Linked DNA regions of Homo sapiens: region 1 is linked to region 2. The links are contacts of gene promoters, found by promoter capture Hi-C in human tissues and cell types (Jung and others, 2019). All regions are on one chromosome and are shown on one strand. Each heading gives the region's core, a stretch centred on a gene start or on the middle of the fragment in contact. The rest is flanking DNA. Distances are from core to core; before and after follow the strand shown. Region 1 overlaps ZNF160 (zinc finger protein 160). Region 2 holds the start of ZNF816 (zinc finger protein 816).

What was found. The method cuts DNA at HindIII sites, captures the fragments that hold promoters and counts their contacts. A contact is called where the count stands out against the background at its distance.
Region 1: a fragment that was not itself captured here is called in contact with the fragment with the promoter of ZNF816 in region 2 in 1 of the 25 tissues and cell types used here (IMR-90 fibroblasts).

What each region holds. Positions count from the first base shown.
Region 1 is chr19:53,091,730-53,098,671 of GRCh38, forward strand. The region is part of intron 1 of ZNF160 (zinc finger protein 160); the gene reads right to left. Among named protein-coding and RNA genes, the nearest start is that of ZNF160, 8.2 kb to the right of the region's middle. The HindIII fragment of the contact is 5,693 bases long and covers 2,215-6,942 here.
Region 2 is chr19:52,960,586-52,967,648 of GRCh38, forward strand. It overlaps ZNF816 (zinc finger protein 816), which reads right to left and starts at 2,296. Exons shown (of 4, transcript NM_001202457.3): 1 at 2,142-2,296. ZNF816-ZNF321P (ZNF816-ZNF321P readthrough) reads right to left here and starts at 2,296. Exons shown (of 4, transcript NM_001202473.2): 1 at 2,132-2,296. RefSeq lists an enhancer at 2,014-2,263 and a silencer at 2,324-2,523. The HindIII fragment of the contact is 7,894 bases long and covers 1-7,061 here.

The sequences.
Region 1 (6,942 bases), core at 3,811-6,310, 130 kb after region 2:
AAATTAAGCATTTAAAGAAATGCTGTAACTGAATGAGATGCAAACTAGAATGTGAAATGCAAAATTTGAGCTTAGCAGGGAGTGTACAATTTCATGCTGATCAGCAGAACCTCCTTTCCATTTCTATTCCCCGCGCACTCAGGAAGGACAGCGTCAACCTCGGTTCCAGAGCAGGGCTAAGGCCTAGGTATTGGTTAGGTCAATAACTTGCTTTTTAAAAAGCAGTAACTTTTTACAAATAGAAATAAATTCCATTGTTCTTCCTTTATCCCATTCCACTCTTGAGATGACGGCCTCAAATACCTTTGAGATAAACTTTGTCATTGTAATATGCTTATGTCAATAATCTCTACATATGGCGTAATTTGAAATTCACTTCACATGCATTCCAAAAGTACTTGAAGAAACGGAAGAGAAACCAAAGAACATAGATTACAATATTTAAATAAAAATTGTTTTCTAAGTACTTATTTTAATCTGTTGTAGAAAAAAAGCCTGTAAAATCATCTTCAGAAAACATTTACATTTATATTCACCTCAAGGGTAATTAATTTTGCAAGATTTTAAGCGTATTTGATAGGGTATTTTTTTTTTCTTTTGAGACAGAGTCTCCCTCTGTCGCTCAGGCTAGAGTGCAATGGCGCAATCTTGGCTCATTGCAACCTCTGCCTCCTGGGTTCAAGCGATTCTCCTGTCTCAGCCTCCCAAGTAACCGGGATTACAGGCACACGCCACTAGGCCCAGCTAATTTTTTTTGTATTTTTAGTAGAGACGGAGTTTCACCACATTGGCCAGGGTGGTCTCAAACTCCTGACCTCAAGTGATCCACCTGCTTTGGCCTCCCAGAGTGCTGGGATTACAGGCGTGAGCTACCATGCTGGCTGGATATTCTCCTTCATATGAACCCTATACAAAGTAAAACTAGATTATCAAATATTAAATGGCATCGTATCTACTAGCAATAATTTTATGGCAACATCTGTGAATTTACCTCTACTTTGAAGTATGTTTGCCTCTCACATCCCCACATGTGGAAGATTTCATCAATGGAAAAGTGGTGATTAATTGAAAATACAATTGTTTAGACAGGAAAAATAGCATATTTCACAACTACATCTACAGTTTCAAAAGATATGGTGTCTGGGATAGATTTGGGGACTTTTGCAAGGTAGACTGCTCTGTGTTACGCAATATTGCTAAGTACCTATGTTGACAAGAAAGCAGTTTCAGCATGGACTTCCATGATCCCAAGCAAAGAAATGATTTGATTTTGGATCTTTTCATTAAATTGAGAATAGTAGGGGTGAATCTGATTATAGATGAAAGCCATGAATCCATTTTGTATATGCAGAGTTTAAATGCTTATACATTTTCATTGAAGCAAAATCAACATATTCACAAGAGATTTAAAAAGGATATTTCTGGCCGGGCACGGTGGTTCATGCCTGTAATCCCAGCACTTCACTTTGGGAGGCCGAGGCAGGTGGATCACCTGAGGTCAGGAGTTCAAAACAAGCCTGGCCAACATGGTGAAACGTTGTCTCTACTAAAAATACAAAAATTAGCCAGGCGCGGTGGCAGCGCCTGTTATCCCAGTTACTAGGGAGGCTGAGGCAGGAGAATCACTTGAACCTGGGAGGCAGAGGCTGCAATGAGCCAAGATCGTGCCACTGCACTCCAGCCTGGGCAACAGAGCAGGACTCCATCTAAAAAAACAAAAAAAAAGAAGAAAGGATGGAAGGGGGAGGCTTAACCTTTGCTATCTGCTAGGATTACAGGGTCAAAATCGGCTTCTACATTGTCAACACATAACACCAAGTGAAACTCAAAACTAATGAACTTGCCCTGGTACCTTGGCCTTTGAGACTCGGCACTGAATCCAGCCTGGGCAACATAGTAAGACCCCATCTATACAAAAAAATTTAGAAATTATCCAGGTGTGGTGGTGCATGTCTATAGTCCCAGCTATTCAGGAGGCTGAAGTGAGTGTGAGATTGCAGTGAGCTATGATCGCACCACTCCAGCCTGGGTGACAGAGCCTGTCTCAAAAAACAAAAAACAGAAGAAAAAAGCTTTGAAGGGCACTCAGCCTTCACTGTGGGTGTACTGAATGTTCCTGTCACACATAAGAGACATCATTAACTGCTAAAGGAAAATTTCAGCTAATTGAAAAAATGAGATGCACCAACTTCATTTCAAAGCCATATACATTTAAAATTCCCTTACAATTGTGTAATAGATCAACAATTGAAAGATAAGGAAACAAGGCATTAGTGATGCACATGCTCCAATGAGACCCCGATATCATACAAGGTAACACTCCAAACTATTTTATCTTCCAAAATGCATCCGAAAGCTTCTTGATCTACAACACAAAATACTCCAAAATACCAAAGGTAACCCAGAAATTTATCTCTGAGATTTTCCCTATAATTCCTCTATTTTAAAAAGTATTCTTTATGTTTAAGGGAATGGTTGGCGACCTAAATTACCAGATACCGTTCCTCCACACACCCTGGTCCAGGGTCCTTGAAACGCCCCTGGACCTAAGCCCAGAGTTCTCTTTCTTCCATCCCGGTGCCTGGCAAATAGAAATGGAAACGATGTTCCGATCGTTGTCACTATGAAACTGAACACAGCACAAGTAGAAATTTCACCTTCGTTTCATCCTCTAAACAGACAAATCAGGTCCCGGATTAATTAAACGGTTCTAATTGCCAGTTCCAGGATGAAACCACTGCCCCACAGGGACCATCCGCTGATGCCCCTGCACCCCTCCTGGTACCCTGAGCTAAGATGAGTTGTGATCCTCTTAATGGTAGGATGCCTGTCTCCACCTGCAAACAAAATGAGTTTTTCACTTAAATCGTTTTCAATGTAAGAGTAAAAAAACCTTAGCCTTCAATTAAGTGGCCCAGTACCATTCTGTTCTTTTGCCTTAAATTGTTTGAAATGTTGGATTAACTGAAAATAAGCAGGAAGCGTCCCTGGACTGAAAATAAGCCGGAAGCATCCCTGCTTATTAACTGAAAATAAGCAGGAAGCATCCCCGGCTAATTTCAATTAGCTGAAACTTTATTTTAGCAGTGCAATGCTGTTGATCCAGTCCTAGTGGAGAGAAAGGCTGACATAGCAGAAAATGACCTGGGGCCAAGAGGAGTAGAGAGCCCAGGCCCGCTCCTTTCCCGGCCCTGCCCGCTTCCCACAGCCCAGGCTGCACCATAGCAGCTTCCACCCTCCCATCCCGCCGCCCTCTTCCAGCCCTTTCCCGTTGCCCAGACCCCAGCCCAGGGCGACTTTTACCCTTCTCACCCCACCCCTTCCCCACTGCCCAGGCCCCGCCCCCACGGTAGTCCCACCCTCCCACCCCACCCTCTTCCACCCCTTTCCCATTGCCCAGACCGCACCCCAGGGCGACTTTCACCCTCCTCACCCCGCCCCCTCCCCACTGCCCAGGCCCCGCCCACAGCAGTTCCACCCTCCCACACGACCCTCTTGCACCCCTTTCCCATTGCCCAGACCCCACCTCACGGTGGCTTCCACCCTCCCCACCTGGCCTCTCCCCACTATCCAAGACCCGCCTCTCGCTGGCGACAGCTCCCTCCCAGAATCCGCTTCCAGTTTTCTCACCGGCAGGAGAGCATTCAGGCCTTTCAGGGCACTCCAGCCCTGTCCAACCACACTCGGAATCCACCATCCCACCAGACGTTAAAATCCCCAGGTGCGCTCATGGGATTGGTAGCGAGTCCCAGCGTTTCCGCGGGAAACTCTGAGACCCGGTGGCTCTGCAGCTTGTCTATGATTTGAACCCTCCCCTTGATTTGGAGACTGGATTGCTCTTTTTAATACTCCCAGTTGGTGGCTGGTGTGCTTCCCAGCTGTCCGCAGGTTTGTTCTCATGAGAGATGACTCCAGAGTGTCTAGTCTTTGCTTTGCATAACGGATGAGGAATACAAAATGTCTTAATCTTATGAATATATAAATTGTCTGTTTATGCACAATGTTCAGTCGTTTATTCACTCATCTCCCGTGGAATCCTAAGCACAATTATAAAAGAGTCACGTTACATGAGATCAGCGTCTAACACAAAGCTTCTGTCTCAATAACAGTAAATAATAATAGCAACATTAAATGAAATATTAGTATTGCTAAAATGGGAGTGTAGTAAAAATTAAATAAGTAAATAATTAAAAGGAAATGATATATGGTCAGGTGCGGTGACTTATGCTTGTAATCCCAGCACTTTGGGAGGCCGAGGTGGGCAGATCATATGAAGTCAGGAGTTCAAGACCAGCTGACCAACATGGTAAAACCCTGTCTCTACTAAAAATACAAAAAAATGACCCAGGAGTGGTGGCACATGCCTGTAGTCCCAGCTACTCCAGAGGGTGAGGCAGGAGAATTGCTTGAACTCAGGAGACAGAGGTTGCAGTGAGCTGAGATCGCACCACTGCACTCCAGCCTGGGAGACAGAACGAGACTCCGTCTCAAAATAAATAAATAACTGAATGAATGAATGAAATATTAGGCCATTTTTATGGTCTTCACTTTGGGAGACTGATGTATGCAGGGGTGGACTGCATGTTTGTCCTTGGGGTGGTCTTTTTCGTGAGAAGGGAGCTGAGCAGGACTAACTGAGGGGCAGAGCCAAGGGCCCTTCATGGAGACCACTCTGCTTACCAACCTGTGGAAGGGCAAGCGCAAGTCCACCCAGAAACACATCTGGCTGACTATGGGATCCCTGTCTGAGGCTCAGCAGACCCACGTGGCCAATAAAAGACCCTAAATTCTGCAAAAAGAAGAGTTTGTCTCTGTGCCCAGGCCCCTCCATGGAAAAAAGGTCCTGGGGTCTAAGATTTCTCACTTGGCAATGATGTTGGCTTGAATATTATTCACAGACCCAGATCCTTGGGTCTTGCGTGGGGCAAACTGACTGCAGAACTGCAGGAAGTGAGAGTCTGAACAGAGCAGCAGAAAGGCAGGCAGGAGACCTGAGGGAGGGGAGAAAGGAGAGAGACAAACAGACCAACCCGTCCTCTCCCTCAATCACCCGCCTGGGGAAGCATTAGTTTCCCATCATAGAGAGGACAACGGGGAAAGGGAGAAGCGTGTGCATAGGATGAGATGTGTGTTGGGTGGACAGAAAGACTCCTTTCCCTAAATGTGACCCCATTAGCTCACCCCATTCTATTGCACAAATTCCTGAGCGGAGGGGCACCCTGTGGGGATGAACACAGCTCTTCCTGCCTCCAGTTCCTGCGTCTCCCTGCCATGACCAGGGCTGTAACCCTCCAACTCCCTTCCCAGGGCCCCGTGGCCCCTCTGCACTGGAGAAAGGTCCATGTTCCACAGCGGGTTTCAAGGACCTTGCCCCTCAGCTCCCCAGCTGCCTTGTGACTCTGTGACTCTGTTATCTTGGAATAAACAGGGAGAGGCCACCGGCCTGGCTGCAAGAATGTGGCAGCTTTATCTTCCCAAGGACAGTCCCAGTGGAAGCCTTTGGGCCGCAGGTCAGTGTGCTGTGTTTCACTCTGATTCTTGGAGAAATCTTTCCCTTACTCTGGGACCCTGATAATCACTCCCTCTTGAGTTGCACCCACAGACGCCCCCACAACAAACCCTCCCTAATGAAAGCCATCTGCGCCTGATTCTTAGGATCCCCGTTGCCCTCTGGACTCAGACACGCTTACAAACTCCCACACTCCCCATATACTTCATAAAGATCCCACAATCCCCAGATACTTCATAAAGATCCAGAAGCCCTGTTATGAAATCTCACAAGCCCCAGTAACTCATGGAATAATATACACAAACACCCCAGGAACTCACTGACCCAGGGCAACGTATTTCCACTCATAGTGACTCCACCCCACAGGGGAATACCACTGAAACCTACCAATAAAACAGAGATGTCTCTAATGATGCAATTAGACCCCAACATCAGGAAAGGAAACACTCCAAATGATCATTTCATCTTCCAAAACACAACTGAAAGCTTATTGATCTGCAACTGAAAATACCCCGAATGCCAAAGGCAACCCAGAAAATAATCTCTGAGATTCTTCCTATCTTTCCTCTATGGGTTTCAGGATGGTTTTTGCACTTCCCAAAGCCTCCACAGAAATCACCCCGTGGAGCGGATGCTGTGGAGCAGCTCTGGGATCCACACCCTCAGGCCAAGGCGCCCATCCTCCTGCTGCTGAAGCTCCCTCTGGGCTCAGCTTAGGTCTTGGTTCTAAGTACACTTCGGGATGTTTTTCTCTGCCTGATTCCACTGCCTTCAGTCCTCTTCACTGTGATGATGAGTTTCCGAATTAAATTCCTGCATGCAAATCTCTGTGTCAGCATCTGTTTCCCAGGTAACCTGAGCTGAGACATCAGGGCATTACAAAATGATCCTGCAGCCCCACAACCACCCCAAAACCCACTTCCAGGTGCTACAGCCAGACCTGAGACTTCTTTCCAAGTGTGCCACACATCCCGTGAGCCCACAGTCACCTGTGGGCCAGGTGCATGCAGCATTCATCCAGCTCCTCTAGAGGCTCAGCATTGCTTCCACGCCTCACTCCACACCTCTAAGGACTTCTTCACCTGTCCCCATTTTTCTACTTCTCTTCCAGCCTGAGAAGCACACTGGATTGAAAGGCCTCTGGACACAAGCGATGCGGCAGGAATGGACACAAACTGCTATCTGCAGGACAGTGGGCCTCAAGTCTAGATTCTAGAAGTTGGCCATGCTGGAAGGAATTGCCCCCAATTTGGGGACACCATGGAATCCAGTTTAAAGGCAGGTGAAGATTGGCCGGATTGAGCTGGCGGAGGATGTCCAAGAAAAAGAGAGGCCCCAGATCTCATGAGGGAGGCTGCCATTGTCCCCTTGTCTCTCCACTCACAGTCCCCTGCAAAATTCCCCCGCTGTTTAGGGAGTGCCTCCTTCATGGC
Region 2 (7,063 bases), core at 1,046-3,545:
ACACAAATGATTTCAGCCCAGGTAAATGAGAGATGCCCCATTAGCTTATTCTCCCCAGTTCACTCTTTCTCCCCGGGTGATTGAGTGTGGATCAAGGACTGGAACGTAGCCCCTGTGTGCCCCCACTGGAAAGTACCCCAGACCGTCATCCTGACCACTCCCACCGCTGTGAAGGTAGAAGGAATCCCGGCCTGGATCCACCACAGCCATATAAAACCTGCAGCGCCTGAAACCTGGGAGGCAAGGCCAAGCCCAGATAACCCCTGCAAAGTGACCCTGAAGAAGACGACAAGCCCTGCTCCAGTCACACCCGGAAGCTGACTGGTCCTACGCACAGTGGAAGCATGAGGAAGCTCATCGTGGGACTCATTCTTCTTAAATTTTAGACTTGTACAGTAAAGGCTTCAACTGACCTTCCTCAAACTAAGGACTGTTCCCAGTGTATTCATCAGGTCACTGAGATAGGACAGCAAATTAAAACAATCTTTCTGTTCTATAGTTATTATGAATGTACAGGCACGTTAAAAGGATCTTATTTGTATAATTCCACTCAATACAAGGTACGTAGCCCAGGAAATGACAAACCTACTATGGGTTATAACCCATCTAAGCCTCCTGCAACCACCGTTTTTCAAATAAGATTAAGAACTGGTCCTTTCCTAGGTGACACAAGTAAAATAATAACTAGAACAGAAGAAAAAAGAATCCCCAAACAAGAAACTTTAAATTTGATGCTTGTGCAGCCATTAATAGTAACAAGCTCAGATTAAGATGTGGCTCTCTTAACTAAGAAAGGAGCTGCACAGTAGAAAATAAATGTTTGTCATGAGGCAGAGGTCTGTGAAAATTTGCCTGTTGCCCATGTGTTATTTAGGCTACTTAGAAAAATGACAAAAAAGACCCGGTTCACTTTCAAAAAAAAGAAGCCAACCCCTCCTGTGCTAGCAGTCACTGTAACCCACTAGAACTAATAATCACTAATTCCCTAGACCCCCGTTAGAGAAAAAGAGAAGGTGTAATCCTGACGGTCAATAGGACAAGGGTAACCCCCCAAGTTGCCATTTTAGTCCGAGGGGAGGTCCCCAGGCCCTTTCCCAAACCAGTGTTTCAAGCCTTTTATAATGAGCTAAATCTGCCAGCACCAGAGCTTCCAAAAAAGACAAGGAACTTGTTTCTCCAGTTAACGGAAAATGTAGCTCATTCCCTCAATGTTGCTTCTTGTTATGTACGCGGAGGAACTACTGTTGGAGACCGATGGCCTCAGGAAGCCCGAGAGTTGGTGCCCACTGATCCAGTTCCTCACACAATTCCAGCTCAGAAGGCCCAAACTAGCAACTTCTAGGTCCTAAAAACCTCAGTTATTAGACAATACTATGTAGCTAAGGAAAGAAAAAACTTCAGCAACCCCGTAAGAAAGCTCAATTGTCTAGGACAGAAGTTGTATACAACAGCACAACAAGGACAGTCACTTGGTGAGGCTTAAACCACACTGAAAAGAACTCATTACGTAAATTTTCTAAATTACAGACTGCCTAGGCTCATCCAGAATTTCATTGAGACTGGACGGCCCCCGCTGGACTATACTAGTCCAGGCACAGAGACTATACTATACTATACTAGTCCAGGCACAGGCTATACTAGTCTGTAGGCACAGAGACCCATCTCCAACAACAAAGAAGAAAAGTGAAAATCTGGGTCCTGGCTCTGGGAATCTAAGGCCAATTAATGTGAACTTTGCAAAACTAGACCAAAAGGAATAACCCCATCTCCCCACCCGTAGTAACAAAGGATCAAAGGGTACTCTCCCTGTAGCCCTCCCACTTCCACCACGTCTCAGATGGAAAGGGAAAGAGCCCAGGAGTGGCCACAAAGCACCGGCCACCCTGGGGCTGCGGGGCTGCAACGCTGCGCTCCAGGGGCCGACTAGAGCGAGGCTGGGAAGCGCTCTTGCCCAGGGCAAGAATCCAGCTCCGGGTGAGGACTTGAAACAGCGCGAGGCGGGAGGACGCGTCAGAAAGGGTTTTGCTAAGGAAAGTTTCGCGACAGGAGGTGTCTGCACGGCCCCACTGCAGAAAGACCGGGGACGGGACCAGCCTCAGGGCAACTTTAAACTCAAAAGGAAGCGACTCACGGACTCTCACCCGGACGTTTCAATTTGCTCTGGGTTGAGAAAAGAGGGGCCGGAACCTGCAGGTCTGTGGGGACCCCACGTCCCCTATATAGCAGCACCAGACAACTAGGAAACGCACACGCCGCCGTGCAACTTTCAGTCCACGCCATCCGCTTCCGGGTCTGTGCCAATCGGCGCAGGACAGAAGCGGGACCTGGGCCAGATCCCCGAGAGGTGGGCGGGGCCTGGGCGAGGCCGGGGCGGGGTGCAAAGGACAAGGGGCCCGGCGCGGAAGAGAAGAGTCTTGGGCTGGGAGGAGTCCGCGGGGGCGGGAAAGGGGCGGGGCCTGAGCTTTTCTCCATCTCGCTCTCCGCGCCTCTGTTTTCAAGGTTTTAGAGGTGAAACCCGCCAGTGAGGCTGGAGCAGCTCAGCAGTCAGGGAAATAGTACCTCCCTGAGAAGTCGCCGTGTGGCGGTAATTGGATCCGGGAAAGTTCCTTGCTATTGAAATTTATTTTAGCAATTTAATTCCAAAGCCTGGAAGTTGTCTACGGCAGGAATGCAAACTAGAATGCGAAATGCAAAGCCTTGCCTGAGCGAAAGGTACAATTTCATGCTGACGGTCCACAGAACAGAATAGAAATCCTCTCCCTTTCAATTCTCCATTCACTGGAGTGGGAGAGTCCACACTGTGCTCAGCTCCTGAGACTTCCCTAGGGCCACCGTCTGGGGTGCGGAGCAGAGGAGTGTGCTTAAACACAGCAGGGATGCGGGCGGGGTGGCAGGAGTCTGGGGTCCCCGCTACTCAGGAAGCAGGGGCGAGAGGATCGCTGAGCCTGGAGTTCCAGGCCAGCCTGGGCGACAAAGTAAGACCCTCTATCCCAGAGCTCCCTCCTCCGTCTCAATAAACAAAAAAGTGATTTAAAAAAAGCACTGACATTGTAACAGTGCATATAAGTTGCCCAGTTGTTTCTTACGTTTATTATTTCATGCTGCACTTAAAATGAGTTATTTTTGTCGTGGAAAAGAATCAAACTGTAAAATATCTTAAGAGATTTATTCTAAGCTAAATATGAATGACCCTCAGGAGGTCCTGAGAACATGTGTCCAAGGTGATGGGGAACAGCTTGTTCTTAGACATTTTAGGGAGGCATTAGACATCAATCAAATACATTTAAGAAATACGCTGCTTTGGTTCAGAAAGGAGGGGCAACTCAAAGCGGGGACTTCTGGGCTACAGGTAAATTGAAACATTTTCTGATTGACAATTGGTTGAGTTTGTCTAAATACCTGGGATCAACGGAGAGGAAATGTTCACGTTAAGGTAAAAGATTGTGGAGACCAATGTTGTTTTCAAGTCTTCTATTGGCTGCCCTTAGAGATAATAGATGATAAGTGTTTTCTATTCAGACCTTTAAACAGTGCGAGATTCTTACTTAATCTCTTCAGGATTGGTAGGGCCTAGAAGAAAAAGATCTAGCTATGTTAACAGAGATTCTTTACAAATGCACATGTACCCCTCACAAAGAACAGCTTTGCAGGACCATTTCAAAATATGGCACAGAAACATGTTTTGGGGTAAAATATTTTGACTTTCTTCTTTGTCACGTTATTCCAGAGTCAGACTGGAAAGTAAGACAGGATATATAGGACTAAATAAAACCCATCTGATGAGTATTTATGGTTTGTAGGGCATGACTCCCCAGACCCTTTAGATAGGAATTTGGGCAAGAGAAAAAAATTAGACCTTGGTCCTCATTCTCAAATTCTTTTTTTAAAAAATAATTCCTAAGTGTATTGTAATATCAAATTCACTTTACGTGCCTTCTGAAAATAAGTAGAAAATGTACTTTTTATCTTCAAGTTGTAATTTTTTTTTCCCTAGAAACAGGACCTAGTTCTGACACCCAGGATGGAATGCAGTGGTGGGAACACTGCCCACTGCAACCTCAACCTCTGGGGCTCAAGCAATCCTCCCGTCTCACCTCCCAACTAGCTGGGGCCACAGGCCCTCACCACCAGGCCTGGCTAATTTTTTAATATTTTGTAGAGTCGGGGGTCCACTATGATGCTTAGGCTGGCCTTGAACTCCTGTACTCAAACAATCCTCCCACCTTAGCTTCCCAAAGTGTTGGGATTAAAGGCGAGCTACCACACCCATCCAATTGTAATCTATTTTGGGTGTTTTCTTTGTTGTTCTCTCCTAAGTGTTCTATCAGGTGTGAACAACAAAGGCTGTAAAATAGGCAGTCTTCAAACATTGGGATTTATTTTCATATAGAGAATAATTATGAGATATTACTAAGGATACATTGCAGTCAGGTTATTCTGTTTTACGTGGGCCCTGAAGAAAATATAACTAAATTACAAAATTGGCTGGGTGTGATGGCTCACACCTGTAATCCCAGCACTTTGGCAGGCCTAGGCGAATGGATCACCCTGAGGTCAGGAGTTTGAGATCAGCCTGGCCAACACAGCGAAACCCCATCTGTACTAAAAATACAAAAATTAGCTGGGCATGGTGGCATGCGCCTGTAATCTCAGCTACTCAAGAGGTTGAGGCAGGAGAATTGCTTGAGCCCAGGCAGCAGAGGTTGCAGTGAGCTGACATCTCACCATTGCACTCCAGCCTGGGCAACAGAGTGAGACTGCATCTCAAAAAAAGAAAAAAAAAATTATAAACTTTTACATCACCGCATTTCTGCATGCAATAATTTTATGGCAATATCTGTAAGTTAACATGTACTATGAACTATATTTTTCACTCACATCCCTAGTTATCGAAGGTTTCATTTATCAAATACTAGTAATTAGCTAAAACATAATTATGTTTAGGAAGAAATTAGCATATCTAAAATATTAGCAAGTTTAAAAAAGCATAATGTGGCCAGGGATGGTGGCTCGTGCATGTAATTCCAGCATGATGGGAGACCGAAGCAGAAAGATAGCTAGTGGCCAAAAGTTGGAGACCAGCCCAGGCACATGGTGAAACCTCATCTTTATATTTTAAATATTTATGTATCTATGTATTCATTTATTCATCTTTGAGATGGAGTTTCATTCTCATTGCTTAGGCTGGAGTGAAATGGTGTGGTCTCGGCTCACTACAACCTCTGTCTCCTGGGTTCACGTGACTCTCCTGCCTCAGCCTCCCGAGTAGCAGGTATTACAGGCATATGCCACCATGCCTGACTAATTTTCTATTTTTACTAGAGACGGGGTACCTCCATGTTAGTCAGGCTGGTCTCGAACTCCCGACCTCAGGCGATCCACCCACCGCAGCCTCCCAAAGTGCTGGGATTAGAGGCCTGAGCCACCATACCCAGCCTCTATGTAGCTTTGTAAAAAATCCTTGTAGCTGTCTCTTTTAGGAATAAAATGGGAGGCAGGTTTGTCTGACACAGTTCCCAGCCTGACTTTTCTCTTTGGCTTAGTAATTTTTAAGCTTCTTTCACAACCTTCTGACAGACATAATGCTTTGACACACTGATATTGGTTTATATAGATTTTCCAAAACAGTAAAGTCCAAGGGTCTATCCTGAACTGGGTTAGCGGAGGCGAGAAGATTCCCAGAAGACTCCTGATCTCAAGCAATCCTCCCACCTCAGCCTCCGAATGTGTGAGGACCACAAGTGTGATCCACTGAACCCAGTGGAGTCTCCATCTCAAAAAAAACCAAAAAGCAATACGGGAATTAAGGTACTCTATGGAATTACATCATTTGACTTTTTTTTGAAATGAAAAGCCTCACATATTTATTACTGAACCCAGCCAACCAACATGTTCATAACAGATTCAGAGAGAAAAAATATATTCCCAATAAAACATGTCCAACTCTCCAGATAATGGTGACATTTTCTGCTTGATATGGTAACGTGATTGTAATGCTCAGACAGCATAAAAATGTGTGCCATCTCATGTACAATTCCTTATAGACACGGATTGGTTCTTCTCCAATGTCTCCTTTTAAAGTTGTACCTGATTTTATTACCAGTTTTCATCTGAATCCACTGGGGAATGGAACAATTTTGCTTTTTTTCTTGGCCAGGAATTGCTTAATCCTGATAGTCTTATGAGAAGATCTGGTGAGAAGCAGAGTCAAGTACACACCATGATGGTGGAGAAAGGAAGAGAAGGGGCTTGACATCTTTTTTTTTTTTTTTTTTTTTTTTTTTTTGAGAGAAAGTTTCACTCTTGTTGCCCAGGCTGGAGTGCAATGGCACTATCGGTTCACTGCAACTTCCACCTCCTGGGTTCAAGCGATTCTCCCACCTCAGCCTCCCAAGGAGCTGGGATTACAGGTGTCTGCGACCATACCTAGCTAATTTTTGTATTTTTAATAGAGATGGCATTTCACCATGTTAACCAGCCTGTTCTCAACCTCCTGACTATTGTTTCTGCTGTTAGCTGTCAGTCCTCTTCATCACGGCACAAACAAGATTATTGTTTTTCTCTGAAACTGATGTGGATGGTCTGCCTGCTGCTCCACGTGTAACCTTCAACATTGTCTTCTCCCAACTCAAAATTAGTTATCCATTTACAAACTGTTGATTTCTTTTGGGCATCGTCCCCATAACCTTTTCATAAAGCATCAATGATATCATAATTCATCTACCCAAACTTTACCATAAGTATTCTTTTTTTGAGACATGCTGGAGTGCAGTGGCAAGATCACAGCTCACTGCAGCCTCGACCTCCCAGGCTCATGCCATCCTCATGCTACAGACTCCACAGTAGCTGGCCCTGCAGTCAGGTGCCACCCTGCCCAGTGAATTTCTGTATTTTTTGTATAGAAGGGGTTTTCACCATGTTGCCCAGGCTGGTCCTGAATGCCTGGGCTCACGTGACCCACCTGTCTTGGCCTCTGAAATTACTGGAATTACAGACCTGAGACACTGCAACTGTTCTCATCATAAATTTTATGTTTCTTCTTGTTTCAATTTTAGCAGAATTT